Linked DNA regions of Homo sapiens: region 1 is linked to region 2. The links are contacts of gene promoters, found by promoter capture Hi-C in blood cells and fetal thymus (Javierre and others, 2016). All regions are on one chromosome and are shown on one strand. Each heading gives the region's core, a stretch centred on a gene start or on the middle of the fragment in contact. The rest is flanking DNA. Distances are from core to core; before and after follow the strand shown. Region 1 has its middle 14 kb from the start of PARD6B. Region 2 holds the start of CEBPB (CCAAT enhancer binding protein beta).

Region 1 (5,975 bases), core at 2,610-5,109, 530 kb after region 2:
GGTACTACAGGCACATGCCACCACGCCTGGCTAATTCTTGTATCTTTAGTAGAGACGAGGTTTCACCAGACCTTGGCCAGGCTGGTCTCCAACTCCTGACCTCAAGTGATCCACCCGCCTCAGCCTCCCAAAGTGCTGGGATTATAGGCATCAGCCACCGTGCCCAGCCTCTGTCGAATCTTAAACTAAAAAATTAAAGTGTGTATTTTGTATGTCTTTGAGGTTTTAAAATCTTATTTTTCTGGTAATTTATTTTTATTATATTTTACAGCAGTATCCACCTGCAACAGTTGGACAATTTAAAAAACCAGTACTTTAGCACTCTGAGAGGCACGGGGCTGCCGGAGAGAGAAGAGTTGTCTAAACTGAGGAAGGTAGCCAGGCGCGGTGGCTCACGCCTGGGATCCCAGCACTTTGGGAGGCCAAGAGGGCAGATCGCTTGAGCCCAGGAGTTCGAGACCAGCCTGGACAATATAGCAAAACCCCATCTCTATTTAAGTTTAAATAAAGAAGAATTTAAAGAAAAAATAAGGTGTGGCAGGTCCTCCATGTTTGGTGTATGAATGAATACATCACTGAAGGAATGACGTATGAGTGTGAGAGAATCAGCCACATGAAGAAAAATGCCCAGAATCCAGGTTTCTCATTTAGAGCCATTCAAAGGGTGAGAGCTTAGGATGTCAAGTTCATCACCAGACTTGATATGCACATCACTAAACCTGCACCCTTCTGATTTTAAAGATGGAGGTGGGAGACCTTTCTCCCCCAAGTCATAGAACTGATCAACAAAGAAAAAAAAATACCAAAAAGAGCCACATATAAATAACAAGCAATATTTACTGCTCGTGATTTTAAAACTCAGACTAGGTTAGTAGACTAAGATAAACATTCTCCTTACCATTTTCACCAAGTAACAGGAAAAACACAGCCCATATGCACAAACATCCTATTTTAAGGACTGCTGGTTTTTGGGTTTTGTTTTGAGACAGGGTCTCACTGGAGTACAGTGGTGCGGTCATGGCTCATTGCAGCCTCAACCTCCCTGGCTCAAGCAATCCTCCCATCTCAGCCTCCTGAGTAGCTGGGACGACAGTCGAATGCCACCACACCTGGCTAATTTTTTAATTTTTTGTAGAGACAGGGGGTTGCCCAGGCTGGTCTTGCACTCTTGCCTCAGCCTCCCAAAGTATTGGGATTACAGGTGTGAGTCACCACATCCAGTCAAGGACTACTGTTTGAAGTGGAGGCTTTTGAACACACTTACCCTGGGATGATGAAACTGAAGAGTGAGCAGGATTTAGCCCTAGGGTACAAGTTCCTCAACTACCTTGAAGTGCTTCAACTGTGCAGGAAACACCTTCCACCTAAAGTTTCTGCCTCTAAACAGGAGCAAAGATGCCCCACTCAAGAAAAGTTCCAGGCACACCTTGCTCCGTTTTGGAAATTCCCACTGGCACTTTCCAGAAACAAGTAGGTCCCTTTAAACTTAAAGGCACCTGGGGCCAGGTGCGGTGGCTCACGCCTGTAATCCCAGCACTTTAGGAGGCTGAGGCAGGCGGATCACCTGAGGTCAGGAGTTTGAGACCAGCCTGGTCAACATGGCGAAACCCCGTCTCTAGTAAAAATACAAAAATTAGCCGGGCATGGTGGTGCGCACCTGTAATCCCAGCTACTTAGGAGGTTGAGGCAGGAGAATCGCTTGAACCCAGGAGGAGGAGATTGCAGTGAGCCGAGATGGTGCCACTGCACTCCAGCCTGGGTGACAGAGTGAGACTCCATCTCAAAAAAAAAAAAAAAAAAAGGCACCTGGAATATGAAAATTGCATTTTTTTTTCCTGCAAAGTTGTGCAGTAGAAAGCAATGTCAGAGTAGCCCTCAGTCCTCATCCCAGGCTACTCCCATTCTTCTTGGCATAAATCTTTTAGGCAAACCTATTTATTCTCCCCTCTAAAGTGTCAATTTCACATCTGCAAATGGGATCATAATAATAATAGTACCTGGATTAAGGTGAGGATTAAATAGCAAAATGTGTGTAGAACCCTTAGCTTGGGCCTGACACAGTGAGCCTTTGATGAACACAAGCTTGGGGCTGTCTCTAATCACAAGCCAAAATAGAAACCCAGAGAAGTCTGGACCAGTGACAGATACCATTTATTCAGCATGTGCCATGTGCCAGAAACAGTGTTAAGATCTTTATTAGCTGTTGGGATGCTTTTCTTTTTTCTTTTTTTTTTTTTTTAAGAAACAGGGTTGGCTGGGCGTGGTGGCTCATGCCTGTAATCCCAGCACTTTGGGAGGCTGAGGTGGGTGGATCACTTGAGGTCAGGAGTTTGAGACTAGTCTGGCCAACATGGTGAAACCCCATCTCTACTAAAAATATAAAAATTAGCTGGGAGTGGTAGCAGGCACCTGTAATCCCAGCTACTAGGGAGGCTGAGGCAGAAGAATCACTTGAACCCAGGAGGCAGAGGTTGCAGTGAGCAGAGATTGTGCCATTACACTCCAGCCTGGGCGACAAGAGCAAAATTCTGTCTCAAAAAAAAAAAAAAAAAGAAAGAAAGAAAAAGGAAAGAAAGGAAAGAAGAGAAAGAAAAGAAAAGAAAGAAAGAAAGGAAGAGAAAGAAAGAAACAGGGTCTTGCTCTGTCACCCAGGCTGGACTACAGTGGCACAATCATAGCTCACTGCAGCCTCAAAATTCTGGGCTCAAGCAATCCTCCCACACCAGCCCCTCAAAGTGCTGGGATTACACACATGAGCCAGCATGCCCAGCGCTAGTGGAATTCCATTTTTTCTTTTTTTCCTGTGTGTGTTTTTTGTTTGTTTGTTTGAGACAGGGTCTCACTGTGTTGTCCAGGCTGGAGTGCAGTGGCACAAACATAGCTCACTGTGGCCTCAACCTCCTGGGTTTAAGTGATCCTCCTTCCTCAGCCTCCCAGTTAGCTGGGACTACAGTCATGCAACACCACGCCTGGCTAATTTTTGTATCTTTTGTAGGGATGGGATTTCACCATGTTGCCCAGGCTGGTCTCAAACTCCTGAACTCAAGCAATCCTCTCCTCAGCTTCCCAAAGTGCTGGGATTCCAGGTGTGAGCCGCCACACCCAGTTTGGTAGAATTCTTAGTACAACTCTTTGGAGTAGCTACTCTCAGTGTCTCATTTTATTTTACTTTTTATTTATTTATTTTTGAGACAGGCTCTCCCTCTTGTCACCCACGCTGGAGTGCAGTGACATGATCACAGCTCACTGCAGCCTCGACCTCCCAAGCTCAAGTGATCCTCCCACCTAAGCTTCCCGAAGAGCTTGGAATACAAGTGTGTGTTACCACACCTGGCTAATTTTGCAGAGATGAGGTCTCACTATGTGGCCTAGGCTAGTCTCAAACGCCTGGGCTCAAGTGATCCTTCCACCTTGACCTCCCAGAGTGCTGGGATTCCAGGTGTGAGCCACTGTGCCTGGCCCTGCATCTAATTTTAGAGAGCCAGAAAGGTGAGGTCCCCTGTCCAAGCTCTCCCAGCTCAGAGAGACTCCCTGCCTTGCTCCCCATCACCCCACTTGCATGACGTTCATGCTGCCCTCTTCTGTCCTCTTCTGTGTTTCTCAGCCTGAAAGCGTGGGCATCAACTCTGGCTGGCTTTGTTGTTGTTCTCAAGCTTCTGTCATCATTGGTATAATTTTACATAAACTTGGCATTCCTTTAAATTTCAGAAAATATGTTCACTTCTTAAATATCTCCTGGGGGAGATAAGAGTTCTATAAATGATTTCGTTCTCCCCGCCTTCGTGTTGAACTTAAAAAGGCGAAGTCACTGGATCTCCGTTAACAAGTCATGTTGTTTATTGGTTTATTTTCATTTTGGAAACTCTTCTCCATGGTTAACCACTCTTCCTCCTCCTTAAAAATTCCCATGAGGAATTCGGATCAGACGCTGGGGCTGTGGGGCAGATCCCCGGGAGGATATCATGTTTCTAGAAGGCTCCTGGAAGCCAACAAGCATTGCAACCTGACTCTTAACTGACTTTTTACCTGTAGGATTATCTCGGGGCAGGAGGAAAAAGACACAGGCAAGCTTTCTGGTCCCAAATAAAATGATGTATTTCGTGAAGGAAGAAAGTTTTAAACTAATAATAGAAATTCATTTGACCATAAAAAAGGCAATATAAAAGGGTAAGGACTCTGGAACCCAACTGCTTGGGTTTCAATACCACACAGCTCTGCCACTTATCTGTGTGATGCTGGCCAAGCTATTTAACGTCTCTGTGCCTTTATTTCCAATCTATAAATTGAGGATGATAACAGTACCTAAATCCATATGTTTTGATGAAGATAAAATAGGGTATACAAGGGACTGGAAGGTTTCTTGGGACTCTCAGGACTATAACTGGGAAAGTCACAAGCAAACTGATATGTGCCCATCACCTTAAGATGAAATGAGAGGCCGGGTGTGGTGGCTCGTGCCTGTAATCCCAGCACTTTGGGAGGCCGAGGTGGGCGGATCACTTGAGGTCAAGAGTTCGAGACCAGCCTGGCCAACATAGTGAAACTCTGTCTCTACCAAAAAATATAAAAATTAGCTAGGCATGGTGGTACGTGCCTGTAATCCCAGCTACTCAGGAGGCTGAGGCACAATAATCACTTTAACCTAGGAGGCGGGAGTTGCAGTGAGCCGACATGGCACTACTGCACTCCAGCCTGGGTGACAGTTAGACTCCATCTCAAAAAAAAAAAAAAAAAGATGAAATGAGAGTGTATATGTACCTTTATTTTATTTATCTGTTTTTAATTTTAAAATAATTTTTTATTTATTAATTAAGATGGGGTCTCACTGTGTTGCCCAGGCTGGTCTCGAACCTCTAGGCTCAAGGAGTCCTCCCACTTTGGCCTCTCAAAGTGTTGGGATTACAAGCATGAGCCACCAAGCCCAGCCTACATGTACCTTTAGAAACAACACCTGCACATTTTTTTTTTTTAGACGGAGTCTCCCACTGTCGCCCGGGCATGATCTTGGCTCACTGCAACCTCCACCTCCCAGGTTCAAATAATTCTCCTGTCTCAGCCTCCCAAGTAGCTGGGATTACAGGCTCCTGCCACCATGCCCGGCTAATTTTTTGTATTTTTGGTACAGACGGGGTTTCACTGTATTGGCCAGGCTGGTCTTGAACTCCTGACCTTGTGATCTGCTTGCTTCAGCCTCCCAAAGTGCTGGGATTACAGGTATGAGCCACCACGACTGGCCAACACCTGCACATTTTAATGCTCCTTCATCTTTTCTGTTTCTATTCGTGGCTGCCTCCAGCCATGGTTGATTCCTTGCCATTTGTAACTATGGTCCTCATTTCCTCAATATCCACTCTGCAGGGGCCCATGATATGCCTTTTATTCCTATCACTACACTGACTTGTTTCCCAAAGTTCCAAATACATGTCCTGGCCAGTCACGGGACAGCCATTAAGAGAATTTATTAAGTGCCAGGCAAAGAGCTTTTCAACAAATCCTTCAGACTTTTCTTCTTCCTCAATTTTCAGGCGACACGTAACTTAAAGGTTAAAATGGGGATGATAATAGTCTCCTCCCCTTGCGTGAATGCCCACAATGGTTTTTGCTTATCTGTCCACTCCTCCTCTGTCTCTTAATAGTTGAAGAGCCTGGTGTGGTGGCTCCTGCCTGTAATCCCAGCACTGTGGGAGGCAGAGGCAGGTGGATCGCTTGAACCCAGGAGCTGAGGCCAGCCTGGGCAACATAGTGAGACTCCATCTCTACAAAAAAATAAATAAAATTAGGTGGACATGGTGGCACATGCCTGGGGTCCCAGCTACTTTGGGGGGCTGAGGTGAGAGGATCGCTTGGGCCTGGGAAGTCAAGGCTGCAGTGAGCTGTGATTGTGCCACTGCACTCCTGTCTGGGCAACAGAGTGAGACTGTCTCTAAAAAAAAAAAAAAAAAAAAAACACCCAAATAGTTGAATAATATGAATTA
Region 2 (6,500 bases), core at 2,864-5,363:
CCCATCTGCCTGCTTTGTGGGGTGAAAGGGACATCTGATTAACTCTAATGTGTCGGGGAAGGCCAGCAGTGAGGGGTAACAGCAGGCCCAGAATCCCAGATAGAATATTATCACCTCATTTTATATACCAGGGACTGAGGCCCAGAGGGGACACCAGACACGGCCGGAGAGCCACAGCATGGAAGGCACAGGGCAGCATGAAAGGCCATCCCCCTGCCATCCCCCTGCCCCACGCCCACTAGAGACACCCCCCCATTCATGTTCTGATGGTTCACCTCTCCGCCATATTTTCCCACCTGCTGGCTGATTTCTAAGCCCTTTTGCAGAACACTCTCTGTCAAAGCAGCCACGTGGATCTCCCCTTGGCAAATCGCCTCAGTTTTCTCCTCTTGAAAATGGGATAGGGAAAAGCTGCAGAGATGGGGAGGAGGAATTGTGAAAAGCAGTTTGGGGGCAGAGGAGGACGTGTGTCCCAGGTAGGAAAGTGCCTGTTCCCTCCCCGCCCCCGCCTGGCTCCTGCCCACCACCATGTGGCCACGTGGGCCCAGCCCACAGCTTCAGGTTTTAAAAGAGGAGCTGGAAATTTGAATTTTGATGTGAAATCTCCTGATTTTTAAATGTTGGCAATAAATTCACTTAAACACACACACATCAAGCAAAACGCTATGGGGTCAAATTGAACACATCTGTGGTCTCGATTTGGCCACTGGCTGCCAGTTTGAGATCCTTTCCGGCTCTAGGTTCTGAGGGCAGGTGACTGGGAGAGGTGGCGCCAGGGGGATCCTGGTTTCCTGTGCCCACACAGCCACTCACGTACTCTGGGCCTCTGGGCCGTGGTGGTTCAAGCTCCCACCATCCCCACTTCTTGGGGAAAGGCTGAACAGTACTGGGGTGGGGGTGGGGGAGCAGCAGGCGGGGCCTGTTGAGCAAGAGCCTTGTAAAAACAAGGGCTTACGTCATCCTAGCTTGCAGCTTCCCTGCAGGACACCTGGGTCGGCACCGGGGTGGGACCTGCGCTGAGAAGGGATGGGTCATCCCCAGCAGGGGGTGGAGGGTGGGGAAGGGTGGCAAGCATGTTCCACCCCAGAGGCCAGAGGGCCTAGACCCCTGCTGGGGCTGAGTCTGGTCTTTGGGGGCTGGCCTGCAAGGTCCGAGTAACACCTTAACGCACTGTGTGACCCCAGGTCTACCCTTCTCTGTGCCTCAGTTCTTCTATCCAGAAGATGGGACTCACATTGCCAGGCCTGTTATGACAAACCCAAGAGGGAAAGTCAGACTGGAAAGATTTTATTCCTTCTCATCCTTTCATGTGACCTGGAGCAGACACACTTAGCTCTTCTGGGCCTCAGTTTCCTCATCTATAAAGTGGAGATAATGATAAGACTGTGGCCTGGCGCAGCGGCTCACACCTGTAATCTCAGCACTTTGGGAGGCTGAGGCAAGAGGGCCACTTGAGGCCAGGCGTTCGAGAAAAGCCTGAGCAACAGAGTGAGACATATCCATCTCTACAAAACATTGAAAAATATGAAAAAAGAAGAAGAAAAAAGACCTGCCTCCTACAAATTATCAGTAGGATTAAATGAGTTAATACATGCAAAGAGCTTGGAATGTGGTTCAGAGAAGGTGGAAGTTTGGCCTAAGAACACACAGCAAATCCTCCAATTAGCTTCAGTTCCCCCATATCTCCCTGCATCTCTTCAGAATCCAGAAAGGGAACGTGGGCGAGTGCTTTGGTTCAGAGAGGGGAGCCATTTTGCCTAAGGTCACACAGCCCAGCTAACGAGGAACCTCTCCTTCTTCTCAGCCTCCTCCATTTATTCACTCACCATTCATCGAGCACCTTCTATGTACCAGGCTCTGTTCTAGGCACCAGGGACACAGTAGTGAAGGCCGTGGGGACAGACAGCAAGACTGGCAGGCAAGATAATTCTGATTATAATGAGAATGGTGACGGAAATGAAGCAGGGGTGTGAGAGGAGTGACTGAGGGCCTAGACTTCCCATGGGAAGGTCAGGGAGGGTTTCCCGGAGGAGGCAGCTTTTGGGCTGAGACCTGAGGAGCTGCCTTGGGCAGAGGTGGGGTGACAGTGTTCTTGGTGCACAGGGAACAGCAAATGCATTCCTTCACTGGTAAATGTTGAGCGTGCTGTGCTCAGGAGTCCCTCGTGGGCCAGCCCTCCCCAAGTGGCAGCCTGCAGGGAGACTGAGGTAGACAGCTAGGATAATGGTGGCTGGCGATAGGGAAGGAAATTCACTAGCAGGTGGGACAGGGAGGGCCTCTCAGAAGCCGTGGCCTCTAGCTCAGCCCTGAGTGTCCCATTTTGCAGTGAGGAAGGGCTGGCCGGGTGGCCCTAGGGAAGCTGCCGCACCCCTCTGGGCCTTGATCCCTCCCCAACCCAGAGGCTGCTGGGAAGACCCAGAAAGCCAGCAGGCTGGGCCAGTGTTTTATCCCCTCCCTCCCTGCCTCCTACCCACCAAGGGTGCCCAGAGATGTCATTTCTCCAGCTCTTGGGGGCGGAGGTCACCCCAGCTCAGCAGATAACACCAAAGGTTGAGCAATGCCCGCCTGCCCGCTGGGGCCAGGGCTGGGGTCAGTGGGCTGGGGATCAGCCCCGGGCAGGCTGGGAGCTCCTGCCTAGGTGGCCTGGGCTAGGAGTGGCAGAGAGGTGGGCCCAGGGAGCTGCCCCAATGGCCTAGGAATGGGTCCGGGAGGGCAAAGGGCCCTCTAACCTGAGCCTACCCAGCAGAGGCGGGCAAGTGGTCAGAAGGCCTTGGGCCTGTGTTCAAGTCCAGGCGGGCCGTTGTCGCTTTCCCGTCTGTGAAATGGCAGCAGCAAAAGCATCTTCCTGGTGGGGTGAAAAAAGTTGAACCTCGGGGTGCAGGCCCACCGTAAGCACAGGGCAGGGACTTGGTAAAAACTTATCTTTCTCTTTCCTTCTCTTTCCTGCATACCACCCCCTCCCGTGAGGCCTCGCTTAAGTCCCTCCCTAGCAACTTCAGAAACAGAAGTTTTTGGCCTCTGGGACTGGCAATAGGTCTTAGGGCTCAGATGAGGGCATTTCATTTGGGATGAATGGGGGACATGCGGCCATGTGACCTTGGTATGCCACGCCATGCTCTCTCTGGGCCTCCACTGGCACAATCCGTGGGGGTCCCGTTCTCTCTGATGTGCAGCCCACAACGTAAGCCTTAGGTTTGGGAGTCTGGTGGGAACAATGCCACCACCACTGACAGTAGCGACACCCTTCATGGATTGCAGCTGGGAGAAGTGAAGTGACTCACCCAAGGTCACACAGTGTGGCAGGGCCGAGCACCCCCCGCCCCTGCCCCATCCCAGGGCCCAGGTCGGGTGGCGCAGCGCGGGGCAAGAGAAGACCCGGGCGTGTCCAAGCCTCGAGCAGGCGGCAGGTGTGGTGGGCGGGGCTAGGGGCGGGGCTCCGTGGACCAGGGTCCAGCCCCAAGCGGGGCGCGATCCTGCCCGGTCGCGCCGACCCCCGGGGTCCTCATATTGTCTGTGGCTTAAGAGGGGAGTCGTCACAGGCGTCAAGTCTTCTTTCTAAAGCCGGGGACCTGGGGAGGAGGTGGGAGTTTACGGGAGGAAGGGCCACGGAGATGGGTCGCTTCTCCTGGAGCTAGAGCTGCGGGCTGGGGTCTCCAGGGTTCGGCCCGGGGAGCCGACCCTGGTCGGCCGTCGGGGCTCTGCTCGGCCCTCCTGAAACCTCCGCCTCCTCCAGCAGGGGGCGGGCCGGGGCCGCGTCTCGGGGGGAAGGCGATCAGGTCGCCCCCTCCTCCGATTCCCCCGCCTTCCAGGACAGCCTCCAGCCCAGAGGGGCGGTCCGGGGGCGGGGTCGCACCGCCCCCTCTCGCTCCCAATCCCGGGGCGGCCGGGCGGGGGTGGGCAGGGGGCGTGAGGCCGCCCCTGCGTCCCGGGGGCCCCCCGAAAACGCGCTCCGGGTGCCCGGTCCCTCCGCTGCGCCCTGCCGCCGTCCTCCCGGGGGTCTCGGGCGGCCGCGGCCGTGTCCTTCGCGTCCCGGCGGCGCGGCGGGAGGGGCCGGCGTGACGCAGCGGTTGCTACGGGCCGCCCTTATAAATAACCGGGCTCAGGAGAAACTTTAGCGAGTCAGAGCCGCGCACGGGACTGGGAAGGGGACCCACCCGAGGGTCCAGCCACCAGCCCCCTCACTAATAGCGGCCACCCCGGCAGCGGCGGCAGCAGCAGCAGCGACGCAGCGGCGACAGCTCAGAGCAGGGAGGCCGCGCCACCTGCGGGCCGGCCGGAGCGGGCAGCCCCAGGCCCCCTCCCCGGGCACCCGCGTTCATGCAACGCCTGGTGGCCTGGGACCCAGCATGTCTCCCCCTGCCGCCGCCGCCGCCTGCCTTTAAATCCATGGAAGTGGCCAACTTCTACTACGAGGCGGACTGCTTGGCTGCTGCGTACGGCGGCAAGGCGGCCCCCGCGGCGCCCCCCGCGGCCAGACCCGGGCCGCGCCCCCCCGCCGGCGAGCTGGGCAGCATCGGCGACCACGAGCGCGCCATCGACTTCAGCCCGTACCTGGAGCCGCTGGGCGCGCCGCAGGCCCCGGCGCCCGCCACGGCCACGGACACCTTCGAGGCGGCTCCGCCCGCGCCCGCCCCCGCGCCCGCCTCCTCCGGGCAGCACCACGACTTCCTCTCCGACCTCTTCTCCGACGACTACGGGGGCAAGAACTGCAAGAAGCCGGCCGAGTACGGCTACGTGAGCCTGGGGCGCCTGGGGGCCGCCAAGGGCGCGCTGCACCCCGGCTGCTTCGCGCCCCTGCACCCACCGCCCCCGCCGCCGCCGCCGCCCGCCGAGCTCAAGGCGGAGCCGGGCTTCGAGCCCGCGGACTGCAAGCGGAAGGAGGAGGCCGGGGCGCCGGGCGGCGGCGCAGGCATGGCGGCGGGCTTCCCGTACGCGCTGCGCGCTTACCTCGGCTACCAGGCGGTGCCGAGCGGCAGCAGCGGGAGCCTCTCCACGTCCTCCTCGTCCAGCCCGCCCGGCACGCCGAGCCCCGCTGACGCCAAGGCGCCCCCGACCGCCTGCTACGCGGGGGCCGCGCCGGCGCCCTCGCAGGTCAAGAGCAAGGCCAAGAAGACCGTGGACAAGCACAGCGACGAGTACAAGATCCGGCGCGAGCGCAACAACATCGCCGTGCGCAAGAGCCGCGACAAGGCCAAGATGCGCAACCTGGAGACGCAGCACAAGGTCCTGGAGCTCACGGCCGAGAACGAGCGGCTGCAGAAGAAGGTGGAGCAGCTGTCGCGCGAGCTCAGCACCCTGCGGAACTTGTTCAAGCAGCTGCCCGAGCCCCTGCTCGCCTCCTCCGGCCACTGCTAGCGCGGCCCCCGCGCGCGTCCCCCTGCCGGCCGGGGCTGAGACTCCGGGGAGCGCCCGCGCCCGCGCCCTCGCCCCCGCCCCCGGCGGCGCCGGCAAAACTTTGGCACTGGGGCACTTGGCAGCGCGGGGAGCCCGTCGGTAATTTTAATATTTTATTATATATATATATCTATATTTTTGTCCAAACCAACCGCACATGCAGATGGGGCTCCCGCCCGTGGTGTTATTTAAAGAAGAAACGTCTATGTGTACAGATGAATGATAAACTCTCTGCTTCTCCCTCTGCCCCTCTCCAGGCGCCGGCGGGCGGGCCGGTTTCGAAGTTGATGCAATCGGTTTAAACATGGCTGAACGCGTGTGTACACGGGACTGACGCAACCCACGTGTAACTGTCAGCCGGGCCCTGAGTAATCGCTTAAAGATGTTCCTACGGGCTTGTTGCTGTTGATGTTTTGTTTTGTTTTGTTTTTTGGTCTTTTTTTGTATTATAAAAAATAATCTATTTCTATGAGAAAAGAGGCGTCTGTATATTTTGGGAATCTTTTCCGTTTCAAGCATTAAGAACACTTTTAATAAACTTTTTTTTGAGAATGGTTACAAAGCCTTTTGGGGGCAGTAATTGGCTTTTGTTTTTTATTTTTTTACTTTATTTTGGATTTGTAGGATTTTGTTTTTGCGTTTCTGGTGTGTAGGGGGTTGTGTGTGGGGGGCTGCTGTTATTTTTGGAGGTTTTGGTGGTTGGGTGGGGGTGTTGCAGCTGGTTTTTCTGCCTCCTCTGCTACTCCCCCTCCCACACACACAGGGTCTGCTTGAGATGGGGTTCCAGCCCCGGGGGAAAGGGGAGAAGAGTAATGGGTCAGGCATTCAGGCTGACTCAGAGCCCCTAGGCGCCGGGACGGGTGGCTGGGAACCCTGCTTGAGAAGAGATTCCGGAGCCTCTGGCTGGTCCCGAGTGTCAGGCTTGGGTTTGGAAGGGCTGGGAGGTCTGTGACCCCTGCCCTGTGTTTGGGGACTAGGTAGGCAGGCCTGTGACTGTAGGAGGAGGGGGTTCAGGTCTTGGTCCTGCTGAGCCCGAGTCAGGGCAGATGCTTTTGGTCAGTGTAGTGGGGTGGGTTGTTTAAAACACAGTTTGTGTATACATGTGT

What was found. The method cuts DNA at HindIII sites, captures the fragments that hold promoters and counts their contacts. A CHiCAGO score of 5 or more calls a contact.
Region 1: a fragment that was not itself captured here is called in contact with the fragment with the promoter of CEBPB in region 2 in 1 of 17 cell types (naive B cells); the score reaches 5.7 in naive B cells.

The regions. Positions count from the first base shown.
Region 1 is chr20:50,714,640-50,720,614 of GRCh38, forward strand. No RefSeq gene overlaps it. Among named protein-coding and RNA genes, the nearest start is that of PARD6B, 14 kb to the right of the region's middle. The HindIII fragment of the contact is 416 bases long and covers 3,652-4,067 here.
Region 2 is chr20:50,186,717-50,193,216 of GRCh38, forward strand. It overlaps CEBPB (CCAAT enhancer binding protein beta), which reads left to right and starts at 4,114. Exons shown (of 1, transcript NM_005194.4): 1 at 4,114-5,952. The coding sequence starts at 4,318. The coding sequence ends at 5,355. It overlaps CEBPB-AS1 (CEBPB antisense RNA 1), which reads right to left and starts at 5,353. Exons shown (of 7, transcript NR_125739.1): 1 at 4,948-5,353; 2 at 4,552-4,706; 3 at 3,282-3,569; 4 at 2,740-2,845; 5 at 1,827-1,911; 6 at 297-411. RefSeq lists silencers at 3,647-4,056, 4,016-4,310, 4,137-4,346, 4,487-4,926, 5,347-5,456. The HindIII fragment of the contact is 16,423 bases long and covers 1-6,500 here.